Regions from separate parts of the Homo sapiens genome. Here all the other regions are linked to region 4. Evidence: promoter capture Hi-C in human tissues and cell types (Jung and others, 2019). All regions are on one chromosome and are shown on one strand. The core of a region is centred on a gene start or on the middle of the fragment in contact, and the rest is flanking DNA. Distances in the headings are between cores, read along the strand shown. Region 1 has its middle 120 kb from the start of LINC02196. Region 2 has its middle 120 kb from the start of LINC02123. Region 3 overlaps ADCY2 (adenylate cyclase 2). Region 4 holds the start of ADCY2 (adenylate cyclase 2). Region 5 overlaps ADCY2 (adenylate cyclase 2). Region 6 has its middle 100 kb from the start of LINC02123.

Evidence for each region. The method cuts DNA at HindIII sites, captures the fragments that hold promoters and counts their contacts. A contact is called where the count stands out against the background at its distance.
Region 1: a fragment that was not itself captured here is called in contact with the fragment with the promoter of ADCY2 in region 4 in 2 of the 25 tissues and cell types used here (hippocampus and mesendoderm cells).
Region 2: a fragment that was not itself captured here is called in contact with the fragment with the promoter of ADCY2 in region 4 in 2 of the 25 tissues and cell types used here (hippocampus and mesendoderm cells).
Region 3: a fragment that was not itself captured here is called in contact with the fragment with the promoter of ADCY2 in region 4 in 1 of the 25 tissues and cell types used here (dorsolateral prefrontal cortex).
Region 5: a fragment that was not itself captured here is called in contact with the fragment with the promoter of ADCY2 in region 4 in 4 of the 25 tissues and cell types used here (adrenal gland, dorsolateral prefrontal cortex, hippocampus and 1 more).
Region 6: a fragment that was not itself captured here is called in contact with the fragment with the promoter of ADCY2 in region 4 in 1 of the 25 tissues and cell types used here (mesendoderm cells).

Annotation. Positions count from the first base shown.
Region 1 is chr5:7,152,085-7,154,855 of GRCh38, reverse strand. No RefSeq gene overlaps it. Among named protein-coding and RNA genes, the nearest start is that of LINC02196, 120 kb to the right of the region's middle. The HindIII fragment of the contact is 4,643 bases long and covers 1-2,771 here.
Region 2 is chr5:7,222,466-7,225,379 of GRCh38, reverse strand. No RefSeq gene overlaps it. Among named protein-coding and RNA genes, the nearest start is that of LINC02123, 120 kb to the left of the region's middle. The HindIII fragment of the contact is 5,643 bases long and covers 1-2,914 here.
Region 3 is chr5:7,567,153-7,570,113 of GRCh38, reverse strand. All of the region lies in intron 3 of ADCY2 (adenylate cyclase 2), which reads right to left. Among named protein-coding and RNA genes, the nearest start is that of ADCY2, 170 kb to the right of the region's middle. The HindIII fragment of the contact is 4,173 bases long and covers 1-2,961 here.
Region 4 is chr5:7,394,587-7,397,572 of GRCh38, reverse strand. It overlaps ADCY2 (adenylate cyclase 2), which reads right to left and starts at 1,435. Exons shown (of 25, transcript NM_020546.3): 1 at 1,067-1,435. The coding sequence starts at 1,276. LOC107986403 (a long non-coding RNA gene) reads left to right here and starts at 1,624. Exons shown (of 2, transcript XR_001742597.2): 1 at 1,624-2,986. RefSeq lists enhancers at 1,354-2,119, 2,120-2,885. The HindIII fragment of the contact is 8,449 bases long and covers 1-2,986 here.
Region 5 is chr5:7,535,718-7,538,631 of GRCh38, reverse strand. The region is part of intron 3 of ADCY2 (adenylate cyclase 2); the gene reads right to left. Among named protein-coding and RNA genes, the nearest start is that of ADCY2, 140 kb to the right of the region's middle. The HindIII fragment of the contact is 7,014 bases long and covers 1-2,914 here.
Region 6 is chr5:7,241,982-7,245,037 of GRCh38, reverse strand. No RefSeq gene overlaps it. Among named protein-coding and RNA genes, the nearest start is that of LINC02123, 100 kb to the left of the region's middle. The HindIII fragment of the contact is 4,921 bases long and covers 1-3,056 here.

The sequences.
Region 1 (2,771 bases), core at 24-2,523, 240 kb after region 4:
ATTTTTATACATCAATAAAGATCATGCTCAGAACCAAAACAAAAGCTCATCCCATTTACAATAGCTACAAAACAATAAAATCACTAGAAATACATTTAACCAAGTAGGTGAAAGATCTCTATGAGAAGAACTACAAAACACTGATGAAAGTAATAGTGGATGACACAAACAAATGGAAAATCATTCCATGCTCATGGATTGAAAGAATCAATATCATTAAAATGACCATATTATCCAAAGCCATCCACAGATTCAATGCAATTTCTATCAAATTACTAGTGTCATTTTTCACAGAATTAGAAGAAACAATTCTAAAATTTATATGGAATCATAAAAGAGCCTGAATAGCCAAAGCAATCCTAAGCAAAAAGAACAATATGGAAGGCATTACATTACCTGACTATAAATTATACTACAAGGCTACAGTAATCAAAACAGCATGATACTGTGCATAAAAATAGACACATAAATCGGTGGAACAGAATAGCAAACCCAGAAATAAAGCCACATACCCTCAACCAACGGATATTCAACTAAGTTGAAGGATACCTTGTGCAAAGGACACCCTATTTAATAAACAGTGTTGGGAAAACTGGATAACCATGTGCAGAAGAATGAAACTAGATCCCTATCTCTAACTATATACAAAAATTAACTCAAGATGGATTAAATACTTAAATGTAATACCCGAAACTATAAAAATTCCAGAAGAAAACCTAGGAAAAATTCTTCTGGACATTGGCATAGGCAGGTAATTTATGACCAAGACCTCAAAAGCAAGTGCAACAAATATAAAAATAGGCAAATGAGACTTAGTTAAAATAAAGCTTCTGCAAAGCAAAAGAAATAATCAACAGAGTAAACAGACAACCTACAGAACTGGAGAAAATATTTACAAACTATTCATCCAACAAAGCCCTAATATCCAGAATGTACAAGGAACTCAAACTACTCAACAAGAAAAAAAAACCCTATTAAAAAGCAGGCAAAAGACATGAAAAGACATTTTTCAAAAGAAGACATTCAAGCAGCTAACAAACATAAGAAAAAATGCTCAACATTACTAATCATCAGAGAAATGCAAATTAAAACTACAATGAGATTTCTCCTTCCACCAGTCAGAATGACTATTATTATAAAGTCTAAAGACAACAGATGTTGGGGAGTGTGCAGAGAAAAGGGAACAACTGTACACCATTTGTGGGAATGTATATTAGTACAATCTTTATGGAAAAGAGTATATCACAGCCCTATTCACAATTGCAAAATCTTGGAATCAACCTAAGTGTCCATCAACAGAGATTTGGTAAAGAAAATATATATATAAATTTTGTCTGAATTATTAAAAATCTTGTCTGAATTCATATTCCATTATATATATATGGAATAGTATTCAGCCATAAAATAACAAAATCATGGTTTCTGCAGCATCATGCATGGAACTAGAGGCCGTTATTCTAAGTAAAATCACTCAGAAATGGGAAGTCAAATGCCATGTTTTCTTCTGTAAGTGGGAACTAAACAATAGGTACACATGGACATACAGAGTAAAATAATAGACACTGGAGCTCTGAAGTTGGGAAGGTAGGAGAGAGGTGAGGGTTGAAAACTGCCTACTGAGTACGGTGTTCATTATTTGGGCAATGGGTACAACTAAAAGCCCAGACTTTGCCACTACACAGTATATCCGTATAACAAAACTGCACTTGTATCCCCTAAATGTATAACAACAAAACAATAAAATGGGGAAAATGATACTATACAAACAAGAGGGCTTCAAAAAGTTCATAGAAAATGTGCATTATAAAAAAACTATGCACGTATTTCAAAATTTTTTGCACCAAAATAAACTCATACTAACTTGTTATTACCTCACTGAATAGGATCTAGTTTGAGGCATTAGGAAGCATAAGGTATCAGTTTGAAAAGATTCCCTACCAAAGCAACATAAATTCTGCTAAAACTGGAGCAAAAACAAACACCAAATTTATGGTGAAGCTGGGGTTGAAGAATGGTAAAATCATTGACACTTTACAAAAAGCTTATGGAGGCAAGAGTCCCAAAGAAATCAGCAGTTTATAAATAGATAGCTTGTTTTAAGAAGACACAAGATGATGCTGAAAATGCGGCCCACAGAATCAGACCATTCACATCAATTTGCAAGGAAACAATTTAACTTTTTATGCCTTAATTGAAGAGCACCAATGATTAACAGCAGAAACAATAGCCAACATAGACATCTCAATTGGCTCAGTTTACACATTCTGGTTAAAAAATTAAAGTTAAACCAACTTTCTACTCAATGGGTGCCAGAACCATTGTGCCCAGGTCAACTGCAGACAAGAGCAGATCTTTCAATGGAAATTTTAAACAGGTGGTATCAAGATGCTGAAGCTTTTCTTTGAAGAATTGTAAGAAGAGATGAGACAAGGCTTTACTCATATGATCCTGAAGACAAAGCAAAATCAAAGCAATGGCTACCAAGAAGTAGAAGTGGTCCAGTCAAAGCTAAAGCAGACCAGTCAAGAGCAAACATCATGGCAACAGTTTTTTGTGATGCTCAAGGCGTTTTGCTTGTTGGCTTTCTGAAGGGCCAAAGAATGATAGCATCTGCTTATTATGAGAGTGTTTTGAAAAAGCCAAAATGTTAGCAGAAAAACGTCTGGGAAAGCTTCACCGTAAAGTTCTTCTCCATGACAACAATGCTCTTGCTCAGTCTTCTCATCAACAAGGGCAATTTAGCAATAGTTTTTCTGGGAAGTCATTAGGAA
Region 2 (2,914 bases), core at 330-2,829, 170 kb after region 4:
TAATTCACACAATATCAACAAAATTCTGGATAATTAAACATCTAATTGTAAACATGAAATGTTAAAAATTTGAGAGTTCTGTTTTCTACTCAGGGATGTGAAGAGTTGGAAGAAATACTGCTCACACTGTTACAGCAAGAACAAAATTAGGCAAATTGCAAGTTCCTGATGATTGAGTTGCACCCATCAGAGAGCTGAGGTCACAGAGCAACTAAAGAACTCAAATTCTAGGGAGGAACCAGTGTCCATAGAAAGAGATGAGACTCCAGCACCTGCTGCCCTGGCTCAGATGCATCTGGACCCAGTTAGTAGAGTTCTGTAGAAATAGTCAATGAATCCTGGTGAAGGCCAAATGCAGGCTGGTGAGAGCCTGTGCTGCACCTGGGGGATGCAAATAATTGGGGTGGGGGTGGGGAGTTGCATCTTCATGAAGATCTTTCACCACAAACTCCACCAGATGCTCCAGGGAAGACTGTGGAGTCCTGACAAAGATGCCGGGGGGCATAGAAAGGTGATGCAAAAATCAACCTGGATCCCTCTGCCCCATTTTCCCATCACAATAAAGTTGTCATCTGCTGGGGGGTAAGATGGGCAACAGAACTGTCTTGCAGCTGAGGGAAGGGAAGAGAATAAAGACTGTCAGCCCTGGAGGAGGGGTGAGAATACATATCAGATCCAAACCTCCAGCTGGAGAAGAGGCATGGTTCTTGTGGAGGCCATGAGACCCAGGGATACAAGCTGTAAGACCAAGGGATAATCAGGACATCAGAACTCCGTCCATCCCAGGGCAGCAAATAAGCATCAGTTAAAAGTAATATTGAAACATTACTAGGAAGCATGCATGAGACAGGCTCTCCCTGAGGATCAGGGAAAAGGGATACGTAAAGCTGAAGATGGGGCAGACTTTGAGAAGAAACCTCTAGAAACTCAGACTCCATACCAAACCCAAGGTATTGCTAGGAGAGTTTGAAGCCTGCAATACTCTGAAGGTAAACACAGCAACAAGAAACCTCAAGCCCAGCACAACTGCTGACTGGATCAAGGATCAGCAAAACATGGCTCACAAGGCAAATGCCTACCCTGCCTACTTGATAAATAAAGTTTCACTGGGGCATGGCCATACCCACATTTTATGTATTGTCTGAGGCCACTTTCATGAGACAGTGGCAGAGCTGTGGTGATCCAATGGCCCACAACCCTAAAATATTTACTAGTTGCCTCTTTACAAAAAAAAAAAAAAATTATCCCGATCTTTTGACTAGATTAACAAAACCCACCACAGGAATGAATGAGCAAAAGGAAAGGTGTACATAGAACTGTTTACCCAGTGTTGAAGTATTCTAGATGTCTTTCAGGCAAAAAAAAAAAAAAAAGCAATAAATTCCCCAAGATACTAAACAGTAAACAAAACCAGACTCAGATAAGACATAGATAGTAACTGACCAAAAATTTTAAATAACTATTATTAATATGTTGAATTTTCCAACAGAAAAAGTATATACCATGAAAGATCGATGAATAATATTAGCAAAGAGGTGGAAACTGTAAGAAAAACTCAAATAGAAATGTGACAAATGGAAAACACTGTAACAGAGATGCAGAATGCTTTCAATGGGCCCATAACACAGCTAAGAGGTGGATCAGTGTACCTGACAATATGTCAATAAAATTACTCAACTGAAACACAGAGAAAAAGACTGAAAAGTAAAAAGAAAGGGGCATCCAAAAGCTATAAAAAATATCATTGGTTATGTGCATCACTGGAAACTCAGAAGGAAAAGAGAAAATAGTGTGTAAGAAATATTTTAGGAAACAATGTCTGACAATTTTCCTAAGTGATTTTCAGACATCAAACCACAGACCCATGAAACTCAGAAACCTTCTGCAGAATATATGCTAAAATATAAAACAAACACGAAACGTCTAGACACATTTTCAAATTGTTGTAAACAAAAGATAAAGAGAAAGGCATGAAAAATGACATATAAAGGAATAAAGATAAGAATTTCAGCAGAATTCTTGTCAGAAACCATGAAAGTAAAAAAAAAAAAAAGCATTGATGACTTCAAAGTGCTGAAAGAAAATAAGGTTTGTCAATACAGAATTTAATGCTCTGTGAAAATATCCCTCAAAAATGTAAGATAAATACTTTCTTAGACAAAAACTCAAGAGAATTCATTGCCAGCAGACCCACTTTACAAGAAGTGGTAACGTCAGCTCTGCAAGGCAGAAGAAATACAATACTGGGTGAAAACTTGAATCTACAAAGTAAAAGAATGTGGAAAATGTAATCAATGTGTTATGAAATTCATGTTTTTTTATTTTCTTTTTCCTCTGAATTGCTCTGAATAATAACTGTGTAAAGCAAAAATTGTAGCACTGTGTGATGTGTTCATAGTATATGTAAAAGTGAACTGTAAGGCAACAACATCACAAATGGTAAGAAGGAAGGATTTGGAATATACACTTTTATTGTTTTTATACTACACATAAAGACATGTAATATTAATTGAATATAGACTCTTATTATGTAAGGATCTACATTTTAAACCCTAAGCTAACTATCAAAAACATGAACAGTTATAAATAATAACTCAACAATAGAAATAAAAATGGAACCATAAAAATTGCTCAAAAAACCCAAGAGAGGGCAGGAAAAGATAAAGGAAGTAGGAGATGGAACAAATAGAAAACAGCTAACAATATGGTGTGTTTTAATGAAAATATCAGTAATTACATTAAATGTACGTTGTCTTAACAAGCTAAGTAAAAATACTGTCAGATAAAATAAAAACAAGACTCAATTATGTGCTATACAAGAAACTCACTCTAAGTATAAACACATGGGTAAGTGAAAATTTAAATATAGGAAAAAATATACCAGATAAACACCAATCAAAAGAAACTTGGAGCA
Region 3 (2,961 bases), core at 18-2,517, 170 kb before region 4:
AGTGAAATTTTCAAGCAGAAGTCATAGGGTTACACTTATAGTGATTGTGTGACCTTAATCTAGTCATTCAGTCAATCAGTTTCCTTTTAGAAAATCAATGATACTGGTTTAAAAGATATGTAAGGTCCCTTGCACTTTCAAGATTATTAATGGTTTAATAATTAATTAATGTTTATCCATTGAAAATTCATTTTCAAACCACAATGAACTTTCCCATACACGTGTGAGTAGAAGACTGAAACAGCACAGCTAAATTAAGTTGAGATTCAATGCTCAGTAACCCCAGTTGGGTCAATTACATCAGTCTTCTTTCCTTCTCCAAAGGCAGAAAACCAATCTTTCTGTCTCTCTTAAGCCTGAGCAGTTCACCATTTCAACTATGGGCTTGGAGCTCAGGAAGTCAGAGTCATACTGAGGCCACAGTTCAGAGGAATGATTAGGCAAGAAGTTAGGCAAATGGAATATGAAAAAGTCTTGTATATTCCAACTGGCTTGGTGACCTAGGGTTGGAGGGAAATTAGGGAGCTAACTATCTGGAGTACCCTGGTAACTGAAGAACCCTAAATAAACCTCTAGGGCAGCAGCTGTGGAGTGTGTCGATGACAGGTGAATAGGCATGTTCCTCAGCAATCCTGGATCATATCCTTACATTGTTTAAAGCAATTAATTATCTCTTTAGTGCCCATAATGAAGGCCAAATTATTTTGGATGAACTATGTGTGTTTTTCATGATTTGGCCCAAGTCTTTTTCAAGCCTCAAGCACTCATCCACATCCAACAGCCAGGTCAACCCACCCTTAGCAGGTGTGAGATTCCTGAACACACCTGCATTCTTAGATCTCTCTGTTATCCAGATTCTGTCCTGCGGTATCCTCTGCTTTGGAACCATCCCCACCTGCCTTAGGTGTTGCTTAGGTGTTGAAAAGTTCTTTCTTTGGTGTCCGTAGTGCCTTGCTCACATCATGCCCTACACTGAACTGGGTTGCTCATTTCCATCTCTATCCCTCCATGAGGCCATATGGATCCTGCATGATGAGCTCTTCATCTATAGCTACTAAGTAGAATAAACCTCTTAATGCAAAATAGCTTCTGTTTCAGTAGCACATTGCAGTCTACCATAGTTGTTAGTCTATTTGACAAACAGCCCATGTACAGACACTGCAGGTTTTACTGCCCAGTTTAATTGGAAAAGATGGGAAGTCTACAGATGTTCACTTAGACTCATGCAGCTCCATGTCATCATGGCTGACAAACTGAGGAAAAAAAATGTACTTCACATGCAAGGAAAGCTACGCGGCTACAAAGAATAAGACATTTTCTAGAACAGTTGTCAGTTGAATAGAATGAAATAAAATTTCACCTTGGTTATGCACTGTGCTGTGAGGAGAGGTGGTGAATTTTTGATTTAACTAGAAAATTCTAAAGTGCCGTATTTTATCTCCAAGAAGGGGAAAATTCCAGTTCTGGTAGCAGCAGCAGCAAACAGCCTATCTGGTGTGAAACCATTGCCTTTATTAGAAGCCAACACTATGGTCATGCATCAACACCTCCCATCTTGGACTCTGTTTTCACTCCCAGTGAGAAATTCCACCATTAAACTATGGAACACCTCTGGAAGTGAGACAAAGCACTCATACAACAAAATTTCCATGACCCAAGAGAAATAACTTTAAAAAAAAAAGGGCTGTCAAACAGCTAATTATTTTACCATCATTAAGGATAATACCATATGCTTCTTCAACTTTCTTTTAAATATATCTTACTAAGGATTAATTAAGAGGTATGCATCTGATTAAACCGTATCAAGACTGAAAGGCTGGAGTGCCAAAGATTAGAGCCCAAGATATTTAAATCAGTTAATATAATATCAATTAGGACTGCCAGGACCACGTGGACATGAACTGGCTATGAAATAAATGCTGCTGGAGAAATGTGTGTGAATAAAAGGAAAGCTGTAGTTTGATTTTGAGCTCTCATTCCATACTACATTGAGTGCCAAATGAACAAAAAGTGAAATATTTCTAAAAATCAGATCACAAACTATTAAAAACAAAACCCAGAATGTTGTTTTCTCTTAAATGGATAGAACCAGCTCTAATGAAAAAGGTGAGCACACAACAAGAAGGCAGTTAAAGACAGAAGACATCTGACAGAGAGAGAGAGAGAGAGAGAGAGAGAGAGAGAAAGAGAGGACGACAGAGCACTTTGTTGCATCTCAGCTTTGTACATCCATTGCTTTTTGATAATTCAGTGTAGGTTAGATTTTTCTTGTGTTTCTGTGATCTAACATACTGAATTCTTTCATAGATGCTGACCAAATAAGAAAATGTGTGTTGAATAAATACGGAAATGAGGCAATTATATAAATGTTATGTACTTCTATACAGTGAAGCCCAAGAAAACCAAGACCAAACAGGAATTGGGAAACATCAGAAATAAATATGACTGGTAGAGTTTGAATTTCCAAACTGCTTAAATAAAGCTAAACTCAACACAACCATATTAACTTAGACTCACACCCAGTCCATTACTTCATGGCTGAAAAATTGAGAAAAAATTTATACTTCACACAAACAAAGGAAGCTATACAGCTAGAAAGAAGGCCAGAAGATCAAAGTTTACACAAAAAGAACTACAAAGAAGAACACAGCCCTTGAAGAAAATGTCAGCTTCATTGGTAATTAAAGGAAAAAGGACACAAATTCCTGAAGTATCAGTTTTAACTTATCATTTTAGGGAAAAAAAATAAGCAAATGCTAAAATCCATTGCAGATAAGTTTATTGTGCTTGGATCAACAGAAACCAGAGAGAAGTCTTTTAAACTAATTCTACTTGTTCTTGGGAGCTAATTCAAAATACATAAGCATCAAGAACTACTGCCCCTCAATTCAAAGATAATACAGTAGTAAACCTTTAAAAAATCAAAGCCTGCAGCAATAAAATGGTAAGCAATAAGTGATT
Region 4 (2,986 bases), core at 186-2,685:
CTTCTTTGGTGGTGGACACATATAAATATAGGCACATATTTATATTCTAAGCTCAAAATACATCACCCAGTGGACACATTCACAGATCAACCACTGACTAAAAAAAAAAAAAAAAAAAAAAAAAAAACTCACTGGTGGATAATCAATGCCTCGCACAAAATCTGCACATGCATGTCACAGGCAGTGCAAAAGTTTGAACCACACACTCAGAGATCAGTAACAGGAAGTTATCGCCATCTACAGACTTCCCCTCACTTTTCAAGGGAGCGAGCCAAGGATTTCTGCTTGAAAAATATAAACTGGCAAAACTGACATCAGCTGTTGAGCTGCATTATACTCCTCGTGATGAAATCCACTTTAATAACCTGTCCAAAACCCTAAACACGTTACTTCTTTAGAAACGGGAAAGCAATCGTCCGTCCCAAACGCTTCTTAACTGTAGTCTCTGAGATGAAAGATTGATTCACAAGTCAACACCACATCACTTTCCGTCTATCGGGCTAAAGAGCTAAATGCATACAGATTTAAAGGCAAAGATGTATACTTAATTTTTCTTCTTCATTTTCCTTGTCATTAACCACTTTCCCAAGGCAGGCTTTCTGCAGAGTTGAATAACGCCCAATCCCAACTAAAATGCCAACTGTGGGGCCATGCCAGTGGAACCGGGCAGGAGACAGCGACTCGCCCAGGAAGCCCAGGGCTGAGTCGGGGAAGACCTATTCCAGCGCTGCGGGCAGCGGTGCCCGGCGGAAAGCGCAGAGTTTGCCAGCGGGTGCGCAAAGATGCAAAAAGCACACGCCCTGCCCGTCCACCTGGTGAACACCTCGGGAACTTTATTTTGGGAAGAGCCTTCCCAGGAAACTTTTCTCCCGCCCGCAGCCCTTGCCAGAGTCCACCGGGCCGCGGGCCAGCAGGAGAAGCAGGGAGCCGCGGGCCGAGGGGCTGCCGCGGGCCGAGGGGCTGCCGCGGGCCGAGGGGCAGCCCGGAGCGGGACGCGGCTCGGCTGGCCGGGCTCCTCTCAGGGCCGGGGAAGGCGCGGCGCTGGACCCGCGGGGAGGCCACTCACCAGCCCGAGCGCGAAGAAGACGGCGAGCAGGGCGAGGCAGGAGCCCATGACGATGAGCAGCAGGAAGACGATGAGCGGGTGCTGCTGGCTCATGCAGTAGTAGGACTCGTAGAGCCAGTCCCGGGACCGCGGCAGCCCGTCTCCGCCGCCCGCCGCCTCCTCGGAGCGGTCCCGCAGGTAGCGGCGGCGCCGCATCGCCTCCTGCCACATCGGGGCCGCTCACAGGGCGCCCGCCGTGCGCGCCCGGCCCGGGCAGCGCCGCTCGCCGCGGCCGCCCGCGTCCCACCCCCGCGCCGCCTCGGCCGGCCCGGCTGCCGGCACCCGGAGCTGCGCGCAGGGGCCTCCGGCGCGGGCGGAGCTCGGCGCCCCGGGCTGGGCGCGCTGACGCGCGGGCGGGGGCCGGGCGGCGGCCTCGGGGGCAGCTCCCGGCGCCGCCGCCGCCACCGCCACCGCGCGGGAGGGGGCGGGTTCCACGGGGCCCTCCGCCCGCCGCTCCCCGCCCCGCGCGCAGCCGGCCTCCGTGCAGGGGCGGTGTCGGCCCCCACCCGACGGCCCGGCTGCAGGCTGGGGACGGCGGGGGCTGTACGGTGGGGGGAGTGGCGAACTGAGGGGCTCCCGCTGCGCCCCGGCCCGGGGTCGTCCTCGCCCGCCGGCCTCCCACACTCAGCCACCAGGTCGTCCACCTCCTCTGCCCTATCCCGAGTGCAGCGTGGGTGGGGTGGGAGGGACGGCCCTCCCCGCTACGAAGTGAGAACACAGCCTAAGGGGTGGAGGGAGGGAGTCCTACCCCCACCACTCCCCCCGCCCCACCTGGCTCGGAGCACTGCGGGGCTCCTCAGCTCCTCTCCACTACCTCAAGGTCAGCGGGCAGGGACGCTGCCACCCTCCTGTTTCCTCCACCCCTTAGTGGGCTGCGGGGCCTGCTCCCACCCTCCCCCACAGTCACAGAGCGCAGCCGGGGTCAGAGGACCCGGGGGGTCCCTCCTTTAGTACGCGGGTCAGAGGACAGCGGGGTCTCCCTCCTTTTCACTCTTTTGGGGAGCTGGAGAGGATTTCCCACCCTTCCCGCCTCCCCGCGGTGGGCACCGGTTTGCCGTCCAGCCCTTCTTCCCCTCAGCGTAGCAGGGTTGAGGGCTCCCCCATCCTCTCCACCCTCTTGAGAGGGCCGGGGCTCCCTGCGAGGGCGGCAGGGCGCGGAAACGCCAGGGGACCTAACTGGAGACCGGCACCATGTGGAAGTGAAGCGGCAGTGACTGCACTGGGAGCCCCCGCCACGGCCTCGCGGGGGCAGCGTCCGTTGCGCCCTGCACGCTCAGCTTCAGTCACACTTTGGAGGTGCCGTATAAGCCTGTCATATCACAGGTTTACAGAGCTGCCCCGTGGCTGGTCGTGGTCCTCGCCGAGCCCCTCTGCTGAGCGGGGATGGCGGCAAAGGGGCGCCGGGGAGAGCGGCTGGGCGCGGGAGCGGGCGGGTCGGCCCTGGGAGTAGCTCCCTCCCTGTCACCTTGGGGGCCTGGACGCAGGAGGCGCTAGAGACCCGGCAGGAGCGTTGTGGGGGCGGATGTCACCAGGGACAGTGTCCCCTCCCGACACGCGTGGGAGCGGAGGCCGCTGGCCTTCGCCCTGGGGGCCGAAGGGGCTTCATTGCTTATCACCAAAGGAACCCACCCTTCTGGAAGTTTCCTCCTATTCGAGTGTGGTCCGGCCCAAAGAGCCCCCAAATCCCACCTCCTCCCCCAAAGCCTTACCCCAAGGAATCCAAGGCACAAGAGCCCTCCCTTCTCCTGCCACCAGCGAGCATCCCAGAGGGCAGCCCCAGAGGGCTGTTCCATGCACTTTTCATCTCTTCCAGGAGATGACCAGCTCTCAGGACTCAGCCTTGTCACCACCTAAGACCTCAGAACCTTCTCGAATGGCCCC
Region 5 (2,914 bases), core at 78-2,577, 140 kb before region 4:
TAAATGTATTAACATTTAAAATGTTAAAGTTTAAATGAGAAAACTCAAATGTTTTCTCCCATTTAAATATTTCAAGCAGAAGTTCTTTCCTAACCTTAAAGGCTGATAATGTGTGTGTTACTGAAAAATAAACAAAAAATAAGCCAGAGAGAAAGAAAGCCATAACCTAATAAACAGCCACCGTTTATTGGACACTTAACATGAGCCAAGCATTTAGCTGGGAATTACATACTCCCAATCCCTAATCCTCAGTCGTATTCCATTATTGGTCCTCTTTTACCGATAAGTAAACAGATGGCCAGAGAAGCTAAATCACTTACTAAAATTCATACAACCAATTCATGCAGAACTGGGATTGGAGCTCAAGTCTTCCTGGCTCCAAAATTAAAGCTGTTTCTATTATGGATCATGCTATCTTTGAAAAAGGGAAACATGTATTTTTATTCTGGGAGAGTCAACAAAAAATATTTTATATTATGTCTGACCAGTAAGCAGTATCTGCTATGTACCCGAGATCAAAGACAAAGTTCCTTCCCTCACGGAGCTCCCAGGGTAGATGGAGTCAGGAAAGAGAGTCCAGTGTTATTCAGGTGAGAGGAGAATTATGACTGCTCTGAGAGCTCGAATGTGAGCTCCTGGGATAGGCTCGTGGGCTATCAAAGACTTTCTGTGGGTGACACCTAGGCACTGGCCAGGTGACAGTGCTGGCATGCCCCAGATGGAGATAGAACAGACTTAACAACAGTGAGGAGAGGAATGGCCAAGCACAATCAGGGCCCTGTGAGGAGCCCAGCATCTGCAGAGCTCAGAATCCATGCAAGGGAAGGGAGGGGCCAGGCTGTGGAGGCTGCAGGGCCATGTCCTACAGGGCCTTGCATGCCGCACCAAGAGATGTGGACTACTTTGTTCTGCAGGTACTAGAAAGCTATTGAAGGATTCTAAAGGCAGACTTGAGTTTTAGAATGAGCACCTGGAAAGCAAAGGATGAGGCTGGGGGTTCCCGCAGCTCCCCAGGCAGTAAGTGATGCATTCTGACCCAGGGCAGAGGCAGAGGATGAATAGCAGGAAAGTGACTTGGGAGGACAGCAAAGAATGTGCAATAAACAGAATCTGGTGCCTAACAAGATGGAGGGGTGAGTGTGATGGAGGAGGCGACAAGTGGGTCTCCATTGAAAGGCTGGGAAGTACAGAGGATGGTGGTGCCATCTACAGAGACAGAGGACACTTGAGCAGGAAAATACTGAGTTGACTTTGGGAAATGCTTAATTTGAAAGCTTATGGGACACTGAAGTGGAGACAATGAGTTTTCTAACACTTAAGACAAACATGTATTGAAACCTGGAGCCAGGAATAAAAATGAATTTTAAATTATGTATAAATCAAAAGTCCTGTAATTAAATGGAAATGTTTTTACTTTGCAGATGTTATGAATATTAGATTTTAAAACATAGTAAATAAGAAATGAGAATTTTAAATTGGTCCAAAATGTAAGTTCAAAATAGTTTGTAAGATTTCCTATAAGAATCTAAAACCAGAATAAAATTTCTACACAGTCAGTGAGACTTTTAATCAAAATCCACAAAATTCTTTTATTTCTATAGGATATACAGAATTAAAGACAGTAAATAACTGTGATTTATTGATTACTTTAAGTCAAATTTTGATTAGAAATGACTGTTCTTACTCTAAATATGTTAGATCAACGTGAAACCTTATTTATAAGAAAAAAACTATTCCTGCACCCATCAACCCATCACCTACATTAGGTATTTCTCCTAATGCTATCCCTCCCCTAGCCCCCCACCCCCTGACAAGCCCCGGTGTGTGATGTTCCCCTCCCTGTGTCCCTGTGTTCTCCTTGTTCGACTCCCACTTATGAGTGAGAACATGTGGTGTTTGGTTTTCTGTGATAGTTCGCTGAGAATGAAAAACACTGCTAGGTAAGTAGGTAAAGGTAAACTCCAGCTGAGTCAAAAATCTAGAATGGGTTTTGATATACAGAAGATCAAGCAACAAAAAGAACTAAAAATGTTGGGAAACTAATTTGCAATGATATATTGAGGTATTGCATGGGTAAGATCCCAGTTCCTAAAGTCATCTGAGAAAATTCTTCAAGGGAGGCAATCAATCAAGGTGAGAATCAACTGACCCCACTGTTCCTGAACCGACTCTGGGGCATGTGGGGGGGATGACAGTGACGAGTGGTGCACTCCACCTGCACAGGTGAGAGTTTCAAGTCGCCTCTTGTTCTTGGCTGGGATCCATCCACCCCTGTCTAAACGACTATCATCTCCAGTACTGTAATGGCCAAATCTGCCCTACACGATTGGTCTGAGGGTGGAAATGTGTTCCACTGGGGGCACCCCCATGTCTGCAATATAGGACTTCCACCCCATAAAGGTCTGGATAATCTTCAGCAGGGAAAGTCTGGAGGATTGGCCAGAAGAAAGCCCAGCTTTGCCTCAGAGAAACTCCTTTGTACTAAATCAGGAAACACAGTCTTCAACCTGTTAATAAGCCTTACATCAGAGTTTTATAAGCCACAGCTTGCAGCAGTAAAATACTGCACTGACAAAACTTCTTGAGCTAGATGTAGGACAGTTTACTTCCAATTAATGCCCTCAGCATCTCCTATAGTATTTTTGAAAATGCCTTTTATTCCATATTAATAGGAAATCAAAATGGCGACCTTCTCTGACTGGTTAAATAGCTAAAGTTAGGTGATCTCTATTGTTCCAGAGACAAACATCGCGGGGGCTGCTTGGAATCACACACCAGCCACGATACTTTCTATGGGTCATGTTAATATCATTAGCAACAGTTCAAACTTAGCTCATTTTTCTGCCAGTGACAAGAAATCCCAGATCTTTGAACTTCTCTTTGCATATCCGATTTCTTATTGTTTCAATCACCT
Region 6 (3,056 bases), core at 236-2,735, 150 kb after region 4:
ATTTTTCTTCTTTATATCTTTATTGTCTTCCAAATCCTGTGTGATGAACTGGTATTCCTTTTACAATCAGAAAGCAATTAATGTTTCATACAAAAAATCCCTGAGAGGCACTTAACCTTTCCCACACCCTTCAAGCTGCAATCCCAGCTGATTTTCCCTCCTCTGAGACTTTCCAACCTGCCCATGCTCTCCAGCCTCCGTCCCTGGATCCCCCAGCCTCCCCCTGCTCCTTGCTTCTGGGCTTGCTGTCCTTAACTTTAACTTTCAGCATTGGCAGAACAGTTAATGAAAAATGCATGATTTTACCTGTTGTAAAAAATAACTGTAACTCAGCCATCCCGCTTCGTGTGCTCCTTTGAAATATTGGACTTCTTGACTTCCAGCTATGCAAATGGGGAGAGACAAAGAGGATATCTGGGAAATGGGGCTTATGGTCACACCTAAAAATTGGCTTCTATTACATCTATTCAGATTCTGTTGTCCAGAATTCAATCACACAGCCCCAGCAGAGCTGCAGGGGAAACTGAGAATTGCCTTATTTGTCTGCCCAGGAGAAGGAAGTGGGGTTGGAAATGGGATGTCATCAGGTTTTGTAGCACAAGATCAGAGTCCAGAGATCAGGTCTTGCTGCAGCGCAAGACCACAGGAGGAGTCCACAGTGCAGTGCCCAGTGTTCCCCATGGGCCCATTGACTGTGCTCTGGTCTCCTGACCTCAGCTGATGTGGGATCCACTTCCAGCACATTACATTAGATAGGCCGTTATTCCTCCTGGAAACTCAAATAGCCAGGCACTTAATAAACGGCTCAATCCCATTCTTACTTCAAGCCATAAGGATATCTATGTAGAGTCCCCAAAGTAAACACACAAACTAATGACCGTGGGTTGCAATAGATATTTTTTATTCCCAATATTTCAAAAAACATCCTTTCTCCCACACTCTGCTAGAATTCAGCTTATCAGAAATTTATTTATTTTTCTTCTTCTGTGGAAGTAAAGAGAGAGATCTGCTTGGAACCATCCTCAGAAAATATGAAACAGCTTTGAGTGCAAATGTATGATGCCTGCTCTCATGCCTCTCACTTATGAAGTAGGGGAAGATGTTCCTTATTGTTGTTTGCTGCAGGTCTTGTCTGAGTTTGTGTTTGTAGAGTGCTCACTTAGTCTGAGATGTTCTTCAGAGCATCTGTGCCATGATTCTTCTGCGGCTTCCACCTGCACTGGGTGACACTAGCCTGGGACTAAAGCTTCCTCCTGCTGCCTCACTCACTGTGCCCCCAGCCAACGGCCTCACCCCTCCATGCTCTGCAGTCCTCAGGCTCCAGCTCGATGATACCCTTGCATCTTCCACTGTCTTTGTGGAAGTGGAGGGGGATCTTGTCTAATCTGCCCTGTCCTTGAACCACCTTCCCTTACTCCCTGTGGATGCGTCTCATCTCTTCTTTCCTTTTCTGCTTGAAAGAAGACACTGTAATATCTGCCTCTTGTACTCAGCTTTCACTCACTCTTCAATAAATGCCTTCTCCTTATACCAGAGATTGCCAATAGTCTGTCTGCAGTGAAGATCACCTTCTGAGCTCCTGGCTCATGTGGAAGGGTCTCATGTTTATGTCTTTCCATGTGCATTTCCCACATGCATCTCAAAGACATTGTTTCCTAAAACAAATTCAGATGTCCTGGGTGGCCATCTGGCTGTCCTGCTCGTGTGTGACCTTAGGTCATTTGCCTATCCTCTTTGTCTTCAGTTTTCTCTTTTGCAAAATGGAGATGCTGTGGGGTTGTAGGGAGACAACAGATACCAACTGCTCAGAAAAAAAAAAAAAATGCTTCCAGGTAGGTCTTACCTGATTTGCTTATTATTTCCAGTATTACTGTTATTTTCTTTCCTGCCCCAAACTGCTCCTTTTTTAGCCATCTCTTTTGCAGAGAATGGCACCCCTAGCTGCTCAGGCTCCGTACCCAGAAATCTCTCCCACCCTCTCACGTGCATTGCTAAGATTTACCAATCATCTCCAAAGTCTACCTTCAATATACGAAGTTGCCTCTCTCTCTGGCATTCTCTCATCTTGCCTGGATTGCTGTGAGCATCCTGGGTGCCCCCCTTCCATTCTTGCGCACCCCAGTCCACTGGAGTGACCTGGATCACACCAGCCCTAGCATCAAAGCACTCAGTGGCCCATGTGGCTCAAATGAGACCCCTCACTATCACCTTCTGTGGCCTCTGGCTCTTCTCCTTAATTACCCCTCGCAGATCCTGTCATCTGCCTCAACCACCAAACTACAAGGTTCCGGAAGGCAGAGCAGAAGGGCTCGCTGTCTCTACTCTATCCCAACGATTAACATGCAATGGGCGCTCAAGAAACATATGTTGGAGTAAAAATTGAAAACTTCTACTTATTGAATTAATGTGGGCCCTCACTTCTCTTTGGAGCTATTCCTCAAAGTGGCTGAATCCAGTGCCTTTTCTTATTGTTCGTTTTCACAGCACAGTTCTCCTGGCTCTCAGCCCGCTAATGGCTTTCTCTCTGCTGGAGCTATTATTGAAGATTCCTTCTTCCTTTTTTTTTTTTCTTTAAGCGGCCAGGACCTACTTCTTTATCTGCCAAAACACATTCAGAATTGGGTGAACATGGCTCTTCTTCCATTAGACTCTTCCTGCCCCTCCTCAATCACTGGTAGCCTCTGCTTCCCATGAGTGCCCTGCCACGTCGTGCTTGTCCTTTGGAACTTGGCAACTTCTGCCTTGTTTGATACAGACATTATGCATGTTTGTCTGACCCCAATGGCTACTTGTTCCCACCAATCCAGGATGGCTCTGTGCAAACCATAGGCATTTAATATCTTCTATTATTTGTAGTTCTACTCTGGGGGCGAGAAAAGCAAAAGTGATGGCAACATGCTGGCCGTGAGGGACTCACGATGCTAATGCAAAGAAACAGCTCATCCTGCCCAGCTATCCCCGCTGACTTCATTCCAAAACATGTGCTGTGGTGTGGATACAGCTCCAGGCTAAGTTTTCACTGTTTACCTAAAAAGATTCATCCTATATTTAAAATG